Linked DNA regions of Homo sapiens: region 2 is linked to region 1. Evidence: promoter capture Hi-C in human tissues and cell types (Jung and others, 2019). All regions are on one chromosome and are shown on one strand. The core of a region is centred on a gene start or on the middle of the fragment in contact, and the rest is flanking DNA. Distances in the headings are between cores, read along the strand shown. Region 1 holds the start of PACSIN2 (protein kinase C and casein kinase substrate in neurons 2). Region 2 has its middle 55 kb from the start of A4GALT.

The links. The method cuts DNA at HindIII sites, captures the fragments that hold promoters and counts their contacts. A contact is called where the count stands out against the background at its distance.
Region 2: a fragment that was not itself captured here is called in contact with the fragment with the promoter of PACSIN2 in region 1 in 2 of the 25 tissues and cell types used here (IMR-90 fibroblasts and aorta).

What each region holds. Positions count from the first base shown.
Region 1 is chr22:43,013,605-43,016,645 of GRCh38, reverse strand. It overlaps PACSIN2 (protein kinase C and casein kinase substrate in neurons 2), which reads left to right and starts at 1,497. Exons shown (of 11, transcript NM_001184970.3): 1 at 1,497-1,625. RefSeq lists enhancers at 1,010-1,209, 1,192-1,895 and silencers at 1,330-1,519, 1,530-1,579, 1,700-1,769. The HindIII fragment of the contact is 29,159 bases long and covers 1-3,041 here.
Region 2 is chr22:42,774,588-42,777,292 of GRCh38, reverse strand. It overlaps the pseudogene RPL5P34. Among named protein-coding and RNA genes, the nearest start is that of A4GALT, 55 kb to the right of the region's middle. The HindIII fragment of the contact is 4,216 bases long and covers 1-2,705 here.

The DNA.
Region 1 (3,041 bases), core at 248-2,747:
GATGGAGTCTCGCACTGTCGCCAGGGCTGGAGTACAGTGGCGTGATCTTGGCTCACTGCAACCTCCGCCTCCCAGGTTCAAGTGATTCTCCTGCCTCAGACTCCCAAGTAGCTGGGATTACAGGTGCATGCCACCACACCCAGCTAATTTTTTGTATTTTTAGCAGAGACAGGCTTTCACTGTGTTGGCCAGGCTGGTCTCAAACTCCTGACCTTGTGATCTGCCCGCCTCGGCCTCCCAGAGTACTGGGATTCCAGGCGTGAGCCACCGTGCCTAGCCGGTTCTTTTGTTTCTTTCTCAATTATTGTCATAAGGACAATGCCACAGAGCAGTCTAGAAAGTAAACAACCACTAGATTTCTTTGTGGACTCTTTTCTCATACCTATCTATATGTAGCAGCAATTCTACAGTTTCTACCATTTTGTATCTAGCTTTTTCTTTTATTATTATTTTCTTTTATTTTACTTTTTAGAGAACTGGGTCTTGCTATGTGGCCCAGGTTGGCCTCAAACTCCTGGGCTGAAGCGATTCTCCTGCCTCGGCGTCCCAAGAAGCTGGGATTCCAGGTGCATGTCACCATGCCTGGCTCTATCTGGCTTTTTCTTTTAACGTTTTAGTTTAAGCATTTTCCCATAGTGCTACACAGTCATCATTATTATTCTCAAGGGTTGGGCTGACCTGGGTTTCTAATCCTGGCTCTGCCATTTACTCTCTTTACTCCACATCACCCCCAGCAAGTTACCTGGCTCACCCCTCACCTGGGGTTCCTCTCACCATCCTCTCCACCTGGATGACATGAAGCAGTGCTTGGACAGCGCGTAGGACAGTGCTCAGGAAGTGCTCTCCATTTTCCTTCAAGAGTATTTCCCTCTGCAGAACGGGGCTAATACCCTATCATGCAAGGTGATTGTGAGAATTGGAAAGAATGCGTGTGCATTGCCTGGTGCCTTGCCATCCAAATATATTTTATTAGAGAGAGCAGCAACATACGCCCCCCCAACCCCCCGTTTAAACTAAGCGGGTCCACGTGGAATGACGCTTTTGGCGCAAGTCGGAGGAGCTCCTAACGACATTAGCTTCTTTGAGTCCCTTGGGAGAGGAAACTTTCTGAAAGACTGTAGGATTACCTTCCCTGAACTTCCGGTCAGGTGCGGTGCTGCCCTGCCGCGCCCTCTTACCCCTGGATGCCGACGAAACCGCAAAACTCCAGCCCCGGGAAGCGCGTCTCAAGGACCACCACCAGCGAGCGGCTTTGGGAGAGTAATCTGCGCCACCCTCGCAGCCCATTAAATAGGCACTCCCCGTTTGATTGACAGGAGAAGTCACCAATGCGCGTCCTGGGGCTTTCCCTCGTCCTCACGCGGGGTGAGCCGCCTCTCTACTCATCTGGCCCAATCGGGGGCGCCGGGGAGGCTGTGGGGCGGGGCTCGGTGTCCGGTAGCCAATGGACAGAGCCCAGCGGGAGCGGCGGGGGCGGTGCGGTCGCGGCTGGCGGCAGAAGCGGCCGCAGGGGTCTGGGCAGGGCTGGGCAGTGCTGCCGGAGCAAAAGCGGTAGCGGGAGCCCGGCCGGAGCTGGGTCTGGAGACGCCGTGGCAGCCTGAACGGAGTGTGCGACGGATTGGGAGGTGAGTGGCCGCCGAGGTCAGGGGTCGCCGCGACGGTTGGGGCGCCGCGGGCGGGACGCGGGGGCGCTGGTCCGCGGCCGGGCCCGCGCCCCGTCAGGGCCGCCGCGCCGAGCTCCGCGCCCTGAGGGAAGCGGGTCGGGCCGCGCGGAACTTCCTGTCTCTGTGGGAGGGGGCGAGTGCTCGGGGCCCCGGGGGGCGCCTGGAGAAGACATCTTGGGGAGGACGAGGGCGAGTGGGGTCGGCTCGGGGAAGGGGCGGGGGCCCATGGGGGCGGCGCTGTGGGAGCGGGGCAGTTTTCCGGGGTCCGGGGCCTGCTGGAGAGGGAAGTGCAGGAGCAGGGCCGTCGGGGGTTAAGAGCTGCTAATGAGTGGGGGAGGTGTAGACAGCTGCAGAAGGGGGAGCTGGGGCGACTTTTGGAGGGACGCGATTTAGGAGAAAGCTGGGAATCCGAGACGTGCAGAGGTTAGGCGAGGGTGCCGGAGCAACGCTGGAGGGAAGGCGTGGCTGGGACGCGCCGGTGAGAGGGCAGGGCTTAGTCCTGGGGTGGCCTGGGGGGCGACGCAGGACACACGCGGGTGCGCTGATTTCGGGCGCTTTGATGAGCGGCCTCCATTTCCTTCCTTCCCACCCTCCGTGTCCCGGGGGGGGGGGGGTGGTGTGTGTGTGTCTGTGTGTGTGTGTGTGTGTGTGTGTGTGTGTAGGGCGGGGGGAGCAAAGCCCTTACCGCAGCACGTCCTAGGGCTGGGGCCAAGCAGGAGAGGCCGGGGAGGTTTGCCCTTGTGACCCTCCTCAGAGTTTCCCCAGACTCACTGAATCAGAAATCCGAACTCCTTACTCCTCTAGGGCTTTCAAGCCTGGCCAGGCATCCTGAGAGGTCCGCAATTGGAGAGGTAGTGATTGCTGCTGCTGTTGAATTTCATTGATTCATTGGGTTTCGGCTCCATCAGAGAAGGTCGATTTTCTTTTCAGAAGGAGTTGGTTGGTCAGGGGAGCAAGCTGTGCTATTGCTTTGGGGCCCACACGGCTGCAGCCTTTGACGTATAACAGGACCTGGGGATGCCACTCTTGGCTTGGGTGCCTGAGGGAAGGTGGCCTTTGGCTGGGTGTGTGCACCATTCCTGGATCCTGTCTTCTCTTTTTCCCTCCGCCTGTCCGGTGTTTTTGTGGTTAAGGGGGTAGGCTGCTCAGAGTCTCCAGGGCTACTTGGTACACTGTTTACCAAATACTGCCTGGCTGTCTTGATGAAAATCAGGAAACCAGCTCAAAGAGTTTGAACCTCAGCTGCAGATGGTGAGCTCACACCTTCTTCCTTCCCTCCTTTTCGGTGCCTTCCTCTGCGGTTATTCCCGTGTGCTGAAGTTCTGTTTTAACCCTCCTGGGATTGCCAGGTTGGAGCCCAGGGCAAGGGAACCGACC
Region 2 (2,705 bases), core at 25-2,524, 240 kb after region 1:
GGTTTGTTAAAGTTGTTAAGAATAAGGCCTACTTTAACAGATACCAAGTGAAATTTAGAAGACGACGAGAGGGTAAAACTGATTACTATGCTCGGAAACGCTTGGTGATACAGGATAAAAATAAATACAACACACCCAAGTATAGGATGATTGTTCGTGTAACTGACAGAGATATCATTTGTCAGATTGCTTATGCCCGTATAGAGGGGGATATGATAGTCTGCGCGGCATATGCACACGAACTGCCAAAATACGGTGTGAAGGTTGGCCCGACAAATTATGCTGCTGCATATTGTACTGGCCTGCTGCTGGCCCGCAGGCTTCTTGATAGGTTTGGCATGGACAAGATCTATGACGGCCAAGTGGAGGTGACTGGCGATAAATACAATGTGGAAAGTACTGATGGTCAGCCAGGTGCCTTCACCTGCTGTATGGATGCAGGTCTTGCCAGAACTACCACTGGCAATAAAGTTTTTGGCGCCCTGAAGGGAGTTGTGGATGGAGGCTTGTCTGTCCCTCACAGCACCAAATGATTCCCTGGTTATGATTCTGAAAGCAAGGAATTTAATGCAGGAGTACACCAGAAGCACTTCATGGGCCAGAATGTTGCAGATTACATGCGCTACTTAATGGAAGAAGATGACGATGCTTACAAGAAACAGTTCTCTCAATACATAAAGAACAGCGTAACTCCAGACATGATGGAGGAGATGTATAAGAAAGCTCATGCTGCTATACGAGAGAATCCAGTCTATGAAAAGAAGCCCAAGAAAGAAGTTAAAAAGGAGAGGTGGAACCTTCCCAAAATGCCCCTTGCTCAGAAGAAGGATCAGGTAGCTCAAAAGAAGGCAAGCTTCCTCAGAGCTCAGGAGCGGGCTGCTGAGAGCTAAACCAAACAATTTTCTATGATGATTTTTCAGATACAGACAATAAACTTAGGGCCAGCAAAAAAAAAAAAAAAAAGCCAAGTAATTAACTTGAAGTCACATCATTTATGAGAAACAAGCTTGCCCTTAACTATAATTGGCATCGTAGTCAATGTATAAACCTTACGGAGAACATTATCCAGAAAACTGGGAGGTATAACATTCATCTTTTTTTTTTTTTTTTTGAGATAGAGTCTCGCACTGTCGCCTGGGCTGGAGTGCAGTGGCTCAATCTTGGCTCACTGCAACCTCCGTCTCCTGGGTTCAAGCGATTCTCCTGCCTCAACCTCCCAAGTAGCTGGGATTACAGGCACCCACCACCACACCCAGCTAATTTTTTGTATTTTTAGTAGAGACAGGGTTTCACCATGTTGGCCAGGCTGAGCTCGAACTCCTGACCTTGTGATTCGCCTGCCTCGGCCTCCCAAAGTGCTGGGATTACAGGTGTGAGCCACCGCGCCTGGCCTATAACATTAGTCTTTATAACAATTCCACTACATTTAAATGATACAGGAAGTTGAATGCATTGCATCAAAATCAAGGTACTGGGCCAGGTGTGGTGGCTCACGCCAGTAATCTCAATACTTTGGGAGGCCAAGGCAGGTGGATCACTTGAGGTCAGGAGTTCGAGACCATCCTGGCCAACATGGCAAAACCCAGTCTCTACTAAAAACACAAAAATTAGCCGGGCATGGTGGCATGTGCCTGTAGTCCCAGCTACTTGGGAGGCTGAGGCAGGAGAATTGCTTGAACTCAGGAGGCGGAGGTTGCAGTGAGCCAATATCGCACCACTGCACTCCAGCCTGGGGGACAGAGTAGACTCTGTCTCAAAAAATAATGATAAAATAAAAATAAAAATAAACAAATGGTACAGGAAGTGGAATGCATTGCAGCAAAGTCAAGGTACTGGGCCGGGCACAGGGGCTCACGCCTGTAATCCCAGCCTTTGCCTGAGTTCTTGTCCTGTGTCCAGGAAGAATGAGGTACACAGACAAGTGGAGGGTGAGCAAGACAAAGAAAAGCTCTACTGAATCTTAGGACAGCTCAGAGGAGACCCGCAGTGGGCAGCTCCTCTCTGTAAGCAGGTCATCTCCTCCAGTGTTCAGCTCTCCATAGGGAGGAGGCCCTGGAGGCCCTGGAGTGGGTGGCTCCACTCTGCAGGCAGGTCCCTGTTGACTTCCCAGCTCTCAGTAGAGAAGGTAGCTCCTCTCTGCAGCTGGTCATCCAGTCTCCAGTTGTTTCTCCATCCTCTGCCTTGCTCTGGCTGAGACTGGGGTGTTTACGGACCTCAGAGAGGAGGAAATGCATGCCAGTTGGTGCATGGGCACCCAGAAGAGGTACCACAGGTCCCCACTCTGGTCTGTGGATCTGGCAGCCCAGCCTTCAGCCTTCAGGCCCTCCCTGGTCTGAAAGTGGGGTCTTATCGGGTATCCCCGGCTTCTGCCCAGGAATCCGCCTCCCACTGCCATTCATGGCCCCTGCTCAGCCCAGCTTTACTCTGAGATCAGAGTGGGTGTTGACAGCCAACAGTAGGGAGAAGCCAGGCAGTGGGGGCAGGTACTTTTGAGCCTGTGAGGGCGGGGAGGGGGGGCCTTCCCAGGCCCCCAAGAGTGGAGGGATGCCTGAAGCTGCAGCCACCAGTTTGGGTGGCTGCAGGTGCGTCCAGAGGAGGCAGGGCTCCTGGCTATTCTGTGGAGCAGGAGGCCCGGGTCTGCAGCCACAGTTTGGGTGGCTGCAGTGGCACCCAGGAGAACAGGGCTCCTACCTGCTTGCCCCGCA